2 separate regions of the Homo sapiens genome follow, and region 1 is linked to region 2. The links are contacts of gene promoters, found by promoter capture Hi-C in human tissues and cell types (Jung and others, 2019). All regions are on one chromosome and are shown on one strand. The core of a region is centred on a gene start or on the middle of the fragment in contact, and the rest is flanking DNA. Distances in the headings are between cores, read along the strand shown. Region 1 has its middle 13 kb from the start of LRP5. Region 2 holds the start of TCIRG1 (T cell immune regulator 1, ATPase H+ transporting V0 subunit a3).

Region 1 (4,211 bases), core at 922-3,421, 260 kb before region 2:
AAGGTAGAGGGATTTTTCCAGGCAAAAATAGATGAAAGACATAGGCTGATTGATCATGTCCTGCTTAAAAATAGATCTGATGCTATTAAGAATTGTGGGCTGGGAGCGGTGGCTCACGCCTGTAATCCCAGCACTTTGGGAGGCCGAGGCAGGCGGATCACGAGGTCAGGAGATCGAGACCATCCTGGCTAACACAGTGAAGCCCCGTCTCTACTAAAAAATACAAAAAAAATTAGCCAGGCATGGTGGCGGGCGCCTGTAGTCCCAGCTACTCGGGAGGCTGAGGCAGGAGAAGAATGGTGTGAACCTGGGAGGTGGAGCTTGCAGTGAGCCGAGATCACACCACTGCACTCCAGCCTGGGCGACAGAGTGAAACTCCATCTCAAAAAAAAAATAAATAAATAAATAAGAATTGTTAGTATTTTGCAGGTGTGACAAATGATTCTGTTTCTGTGGCAGAATGTTCTCAGGAGATCTCTTTTGAACTCTCATGGAAAGCATCATGCTGTTGGCAACATCACATTTATTTTTATTTATTTATTATTTTTTAGAGACAGGGTCTTGCTCTGTTGCCCAGGCTGGAGTGCAGTGGCACAATCACAGCTCACTGCAGCCTCAACCTCCTGGGCTCAAGCAATCCTCCTGCCTCAGCCTCCCAAAGTAGCTGGGACCACAGGCGTGAGCCACTGCACTCAGCCCAATGTACCTTCAATATTTACATTTCTGGCAAAGGTAGCAAAACCTTAACAAATTTTGAATCTAGATAATAAAATTATGAGGCTGGGTGCAGTGGCCCTGACAGGGATGGCTCACATCTGTAATCTCAACATTTTGGGAGGCCAAGGTAGGCGGATCACCTGAGGCCAGGAGTTTGAGACCAGCCTGGCCAACATGGTGTAACCCTGTCTCTAACAAAAATACAAAAAAATTAGCCAGACGTGGTGGTGCACGTCTGTCATCCCAGCTACTAGGGAGGCTGAGGCAGGAGAATTGCTTGAACCCGAGAGGCAGAGGTTGTGATGAGCCGAGATCGCGTCATTGCACTCCAGCCTGGGCAAAAGCAAGAGCGAAACTCTCTCTCAAAAAAATAAAAAAAAAATAAATTAATGAATTAATTAAAATAAAATAAAATAATGGATAGTCACTGTAAAGAAAAAATAAATGTATATATCAGCCAACAAGTGATGGAATAGAGCACCCCATCTCCCTGGCTGGACAGATACATCCCACAACACCTGGAAGGCGGCTCCATGTAGAACTTTCTGGACTGCTTGAGGTGCTGTGCTGGAGCACGGTGACAGAGGAGCTGGACCATGGACCTCCCCCGGCCCCCACCAAGGGCGAGGTCCCCCTGTGGTGGGTCTGAGGGAGGCATCCGTATGGCCTCTGCGGCTTGGGCAGGGAATTTGGGGTCCAAGTACTTGGTGCAAAGCCTGGAAAGAGGGTTTGGGTGCTGAGGGCATATCCCCTGGGCCACATGGGGGCAGAAGTGGGGCCCCCTGAAGCTTGGAGTCCTGGGCAGGGGCATCTATTTTGCTGTCTGAGGCCTTCAGTACTTGAAGCAAAATGGAGGCAGAATGTCCCACCTTAATGCCCCTGATTCCTCCAAACCAATTCCAGAGACAGCAAGGGCCAGAACAGGGATGGCCCTGCCCAGGGTCATGCAGCGAGGAAGTGGCCAGGCTGGGATCTGAACCCAGGCTAATCCCCTCCCTTGTCCTCCTCCAGGCCCTCACCCCTGCATAGAGCCCTCCAGCTCACTCATCCTCGGCCAGCTCCATCTCCTCAGCTTGTAAACGCCACGGGATTCTCCCTTCTTAAAAACAAAGGCCTGGCCAGGCACGGTGGCTCATGCCTGTACTTTGGGGTGGCTCCCAGCACTTTGGGAGGCCAAGGTGGGCGGATCATGAGGTCAAGAGATTGAGACCATCCTGGCCAGCATGGTGAAACCCTGTATCTACTGAAAAAAAAAAAATTAACTGGGCATGGTGGCTAGCTACTTAGGAGGCTGAGGCAGGAGAATCGCTTGAACCTGGGAGAAAGAGGTTGCAGTGAGCCAAGATCGCGCCACTCCACTCTAACCTGGCAACAGAACAAGACTCCGTCTCAAAAAACAAACAAACAAACAAATAAACAAAAAAAGGCGGAGCGCGATGGCTCGCGCCTGCAATCCCAGCACTTTGGGAGGCTGAGGCGGGCGGATCACTTGAGGTTAGGAGTTTGAGACCAGCTTGGCCAACATGGTGAAACCCCATCTCCACTAAAAGTACAAAAATCAGCCAGGTGTGGTGGTGGGTGCCTGTAATCCCAGCTACTCAGGAGGCTGAGGCAGGAGAATCGCTTGAACCCATGACCTGGAGGCTACAGTGAGCTGAGATTGCGCCACTGTACTCCAGCCTGGGCAACAAGACTCTGTCTCAAAAAAAAAAAAAAAAAAAAGACTGGCCCTTCCCCTTCAGCTCTTCCTCAGGGTCCCTGAGCACTCTACACCCCCGTCTACACTGAGCACTCCACCCTGCTGTCTACACTGAGCACTCCACCCTGCCATCTACACTGAGGACTCCACCCCACTGTCTACACTGGCTGCCTCCCGCCCTCACCTCCTGCTAAGGCCATTCCCCGCTGCATCTGTCTTCTAGATTCTGCAGCCTTCAGCACGCTGGGCCCCTCCTTTGTCCCCTTGAGCCACCTCCAGCCTCCCCCTGAGCTGCTACTCCTCTCCCAGCAGCCTCCACCCAAGCCCCTCCAGTCCCCAAGCTGTCCCTTGCATCCAGCACTGCCCTTCCACGTGCCCCTTCCCTCCAGCTTCACAGCAGGGTGGGGCCTCCAGGCCCTGCCCACTGTGCCCATCCACAAGTTGTGGTGGGAGCTCCGAGGGGAGGCAGGGGTGTGCATGGACTTGGGACGTCCAAGTCTGGGACCAGGGGCAGCTGGTTGGTGGAGTGTGGAGGGGGATAGGGACTTTCAGGTAGAGAGGCTGTAGGGGCAAGATCGGGACGGCGGATGTCCCTAAGGAGGGCTCTGACCTGGGAAATATTGTGCAGCTTCCTCTTTGCCATTCCTGGAGCTCAGACACTGGCCGGCTCTCACCCCGCCCTTCCTGCAGGACACAGCTCCATCCCAGTGAGTTCCTAGTGTAGACATCTCCAGCAGCACGGATGGGAAAGGAAGTCATCAAAGGTGCCCAGGACCGGAGGCTTTTTCTGGAGGTGGCAGAGGAGGGTGTGGGTCTCAGGGCTCTGGCTGAGGGCAAGCGTGGGAGGTCTTAGGTCTGCACCAGCCCCGTGAAGGCCCCTCCTGCTCCCTGGTGGAGTCCTAGAGGGAACAGCAGCCCCTAGGCTCTAGCAGGAGTGGGTAGGGGCTTTTCTGGCTTCCTACTGTGCCAGCAGGATAGCTGGGCCTGGCACTGAGCCCAAAGATCACATGCCGGGGCATTGGCGCAGTGAGGAACAGACCCTCGCCAAAGCTGGCAAAGAAGACCCCATGGGGTGCAGCTGGTGAAGCTGAGAGCTCAATGTTTGGGGGAGCCTGGCAAAAGGGGTCCTCCCCTCCCTCTGCAGGCCAGGATCGCAGGTTTTCCCTACATGTTGGTAATTCTCAAACAATCCCATGGCCACTGGAGCAAAGATCACAGTGGGCGGCGGCCTCGGGAGCAGTGGACAGGGCACGCAGTGCCTTTGATGCCAGAGCCCTCGCCCCAAAGTCAACAAACTCTGCAGCGGACTTTGCACCCGGACTTTGTTTTCACCATACAAGGAAAGGGACAGATCACAGGCCCTCTCGCTGCCCTCGCTGAGCCGGAAGCTGCAGCGTGAGCTCTCTCAAGCCCCATTTCTAGGTTCCCCAGGCGCACCCCTGAGCCCCTACTCGCCTATTAAGTTCTCCTAATAGCCCTTCAAGGTCTTAATGTATGTCCATTAGACAGAGGGGAAAACTGAGGCGAGGGCAAGTGACTTGACCGAGGTTCCTCGGCGAGCAGGGCGTGGAGCTGAGAACCTCGTTATTACTGCTCCCCACACAACCCTCTGGCCGTTCTTGGAAGAGGCTGAGCCCGGGAGGGCCAGAGTGACCCAGACACCATGGGCCGCCTGCGGTAACACGTGCGGCCACGAGGGGGCAGCAGCGTCCCGCCCGGCCGGGCTCTCTCCGGCGCTCAGTATCCGTCCCAGGCCAAGAAGAAGAAACTCGGGGAGGAGGGCGGAGGGGGCTGC
Region 2 (4,006 bases), core at 707-3,206:
TGACACCGGCTCCACCCCCACCTTCACTCTGGCCTCCCTCCTCTCGGGCTGCCGTCACCCTAGACAGGACCCCACTGGCCCAGGCACTTAGGCCCAGGGCTGCCCCGGGGGTGGCTGGAGCCCTCGCTGCTCCCTGTGGAGCTGCATGTGCTGAGTGGTAGGAGCGGGCATCTCCACCGGGTACCCTGGGGCTAGCCAGGGAGCACTGCTGTGGGGGGGCTGTCCCCTGAGGCCCGGGCCGCCCGGCAGCAGCCGCAGCCTTCCAGGTGTTGAAACCAACAAAAGTGAAACTACAGAATGGCGGGGAAGGGCCCGGGGCCTTGCTCAAGGCCGATGTGGGGTGGGGGCAGGTGCCAGGCCACCTCCAACCCGCCCTGGATGCTGGGGCCCCTCCAGCTCCAAAGCCACTGCTCTCAGGGCCCAGGGCCCCTCTGTGGGAATCAGTTGCTTAGCTCGAAAATTAGGGGGAGGGGACAGGCCTGGTCAGGGCCCCGCCTGCCCAGCCAGTCACTTCCTCCCCTGGGTCTGGTTTACTTAACTCTAAACAGGGAAACGCAGCCCCAGCCCCAGCCTGGGAAAGGAGAGAAGGAGGGAACGAGGGAACACTGAGCAGATGGCCCAAGGCTGCAGGTGGGCAGGGCAGGGGGCAGCGGGGCTGGGTTCCATCCCTAAGGACCAGGCCCGGCCACAGGGCAGAGGGACTTGGAGCCCAGGCTGAGATTGGGTGTGTGACCTTGGGCAAGTCTCTCACCCTCTCTGTGCCTCTACTTCCTCTTTGGGTGAATGGGACGTGGCACCCCTGACAGAGACAGGATCTAGGGAGGTGACAAAAATAACCAGAGCCTCAACTGAATCCCTTCATCCACACGACCTCACACTAATCCCTGGGGGGAGAAACCCTTGGGGAGGGGGTACGGTGCTTTTGTTTCATACAGGACTCCACTGACACTTGGAGAGGTAAAGTCCAATGTTATGTGCCCAGCACAAAGGGTGAGCTCAGAGGAGGGTTGTGTCTGACCTGGCTCCCTTTGGGGCTGTGCTGGCCAAATAAGGAGGTGTGGGGAATCAGCTCTGGGGATCTGGGGAGGGGTCACCCCTGGCTCAGGGCCATCAGGGCTCCCACAGCCACTATGCCGAGGGCTCGAGGGCCGGGCTCCTTCCAGCACTTCCCAGGGGGTGGGGGAACAACCTGTAATGGGCGGGGGGAAAGGTGTGGGGACGTGATCAGCCCCCGTGCCTGGCATGTGAGGCTCCACTGGCTCACCCCCTACCCCTGTCCCCCTTGGTCCCCGCTCTAGCCAGGGTCACCCAGCCACTTTTATGGTGTAAATGAATACGCCTCCATCCTGCGGCCCTGGGGTCCAGGCTCCAGCCCACTCCTCACCCTGTGCCCCTTTCCTGGCCCCTCCAGGAACCCAGCAGGTCTCTCTGCACCTCTGCCCTCCCCTCCAGATGATGGGAAGGCAGTAGGAGAGGGTCTGGCGCCCCCTCCATTCCAAATGGGGTGGGCTCTGGAGTCAAATGACCCAGCTGGTCTCCAGCTCTGACACTTCCTAGTTGTGTGGTCTCAGCTTCCCCATCTGTAGAATGGGTCCCTCCCTCCAAGGAAGCAGCAGCGGGGAAAGCTCCGCGCACACCAGGCCCGGGAACGCTGGGCTGTGTTGGTAAACACCCCATCCTTCTCCTCCTCCCTTGGGGATCCTCCGTGGCCCCCCGCAAGGCCTGACACCCTGCGGGGTGGCGGGCTGAGCTGCATTCACGGAGCCAACTGGGTGGGGCGCCAGGATCTCCTCCCCGGGGCAGGGGGAAGAGGGTGGGCAGGAAATTCTGGGGCTCCGCAGACCCCGGCAGGGGCACTCACCCCGGGTGTGCTGCGCGCCGCGCCTCCGCTGCTGGCTGCCCCGCTCCGCGCACGCCGGGCGGGACTCAGAACTGCACTCCCGCCAGCCCGGGACTAGGCGCCGCTCACTCCTTTCCGGGCAGGCGGGACGACGGGGAGGGGCCAGGGACGCCCCGCCCCCGGCCCAAGGCTCCACTGGAGTCCAGGAAGTCTGGGAGAGGTTGAGCCCAGGCTGTGGCCTGGCGGACGGGTCCTGAGGCGCTTAATCCCGGAGAGGAGGCCTGGAGAAAGGAGCGGATAACAGACCACTGCCAACCGCGCGCGTCTATGCTGGCCCCGATGCAGGGGCAGCTCCGCTCAGGCCCAGCTCAGGATAGGAGATGAGACCCTGCTCTCCTCTCACTTCGAGGCTTGTGCGCCTCTGGCTGATGGGACCCCAACATTCGCAGGCTCATGGGCTTGGGGTCCCCAGGATGCTCCCCCACCTCCGGGACCCCTCCCTTGGGCGGCAGTGAAACCCGCCGGTGCTTACACCTTCCTGCTCTTGACCACCCTGGAGAGGCCCCGCTCTGGCCCTTGGGTGGGTGGCTGCCCCACTCTGGGCCTGCTTCACTGGCAGCAGGACACAGGGCCAGGCCATGCTGCCTTGTTCTGCCCAGCGCCCCGCACCCAGCAGGCCCTGGGAGATACCCTGGGGCCAGAGGCCAGCTGTCAGCTCCACCTGCAGCTGCAGCCGCGGGGGGTAGAGGGGGGTGTCACTGTGACCTTGCTCCAGGTCAGCACCATGGGCGTCATCAGGTCCTAGTGCCTGGAAGCTGGGACTCACGACCGTCCAGCTGCCTGCACTTTGGACAGGCCTGGGGCATTCCCACTGGAGGCCAGGGGCCCTTCAGCTCTGGTGATCCCTAAGCCCCACACAGCGAGCACAGGCCTGTGGGGCTGCGGCAGGGGTGGACAAGTGGAGCCCCAGAGCCGGGCCTGGAAACTGAGTCACAGCCAAGCTCAGCTGTGGTTCCTCAGAAAATTGGGGGACTTGTGGTTGGGCGCCATAGGCCTGTTCTGACAGGGTCGGGGCCTGATACAACCAGACAGCCTGAGTGGGGTCTCAGCAGTAAGTGCCTGGGAGACCACGGTAAGGGAAAGAACCCAGCGGTGAGCTGGAAAGACTGACCCGCTTGGAATAGAAGTATTCAGTGCACAGCTACAGGCTCCATGCCACGCTCTGACGGCGGTTACGTCTGGGAAAAGCTAAACCGGCGGTGCTTCAGGAGTCCTGCGCCTGCCTTGTTTTTGGAAAGAACACCTGTTTTCATCAGTGGCCAAGATGAGCTGCGGGCCAGACCTGTGGACACTTCCCGGGCTCCAGGCTTCCCCTCGCCTCCTGCAGTTACTTCTCACCCCAGTGCCACAGGCTGTGGGGCCCAAGCGGGAGCCTGGCCACTTTGGCATTAGATGGCAATGCCTGGTCTAGGAAGGAGGCCCAGGTGTTAGACCTGAGAAAAGCTCCCTGGGAATGGGCTGGGAGAGGCTGGTGTTTTTGCTGCAGGCCTTCTCAGAGCCTTGAATGTCTACCATGCAGTACCTGCCAGCAGGCACACAGCAGCTGGAGCATTTCCAACACTCACTGGGCCAGGAAACTTGTTCTTTCGAAGAAGTAGCTTTTTACAAAGTAGTGCTTTGTAAAAAGCACTTTTGGAAATGATGGTAGATGGGGGGGGTCAAGGTCTCTGAACTGAGTTTTATTATGGGATGTGCCCTGCATGGCCCTGAGCAAGCCCTTTCACCTCTCGGAGCTGGTTTCCTCACTGCAAATGAAGTGAAATCCTTCCACAGTACTTAGCACAAGTTCAGGGGGGCTGCTTTTGGCCATTATATGGGCAAGGGGCTTGTGTGTGGCCCTAGGGAAACCCCACCGTGTCGCTGGGCCAGCAAAGCAGGAAGTGGTGAGCAGTGGCCGGGCCAGCACCCTGGCGTAGGGAACACAGGAAAGAGGATGTGGCTGGACGCAGGCCAGCTCAGGGCCAGCAGGGCCTGTGTCACCCTCGTGTGACTGTCACCCCAAGCAGGCTTCCTCCTACCCCCAGCAAGGATGCCCCGGCCTGAGTTTCTGCCACTTGCTGTTCTTCAGCCTGAGGTCTTGGGAGGCTCCAAGTCCTAAGCGTCTTA

What was found. Contacts are between HindIII fragments. The study calls those that stand out against the background at their distance.
Region 1: a contact is called between a fragment that was not itself captured here and the fragment with the promoter of TCIRG1 in region 2, in 1 of the 25 tissues and cell types used here (liver).

What each region holds. Positions count from the first base shown.
Region 1 is chr11:68,297,814-68,302,024 of GRCh38, reverse strand. It overlaps a transcript of LRP5 not described here. Among named protein-coding and RNA genes, the nearest start is that of LRP5, 13 kb to the left of the region's middle. RefSeq lists enhancers at 1,040-1,787, 2,537-3,284. The HindIII fragment of the contact is 8,628 bases long and covers 1-4,211 here.
Region 2 is chr11:68,036,975-68,040,980 of GRCh38, reverse strand. TCIRG1 (T cell immune regulator 1, ATPase H+ transporting V0 subunit a3) reads right to left here and starts at 1,956. Exons shown (of 20, transcript NM_006019.4): 1 at 1,862-1,956. RefSeq lists silencers at 1-84, 1,765-1,844, 1,905-2,084 and an enhancer at 1,976-2,597. The HindIII fragment of the contact is 15,208 bases long and covers 1-4,006 here.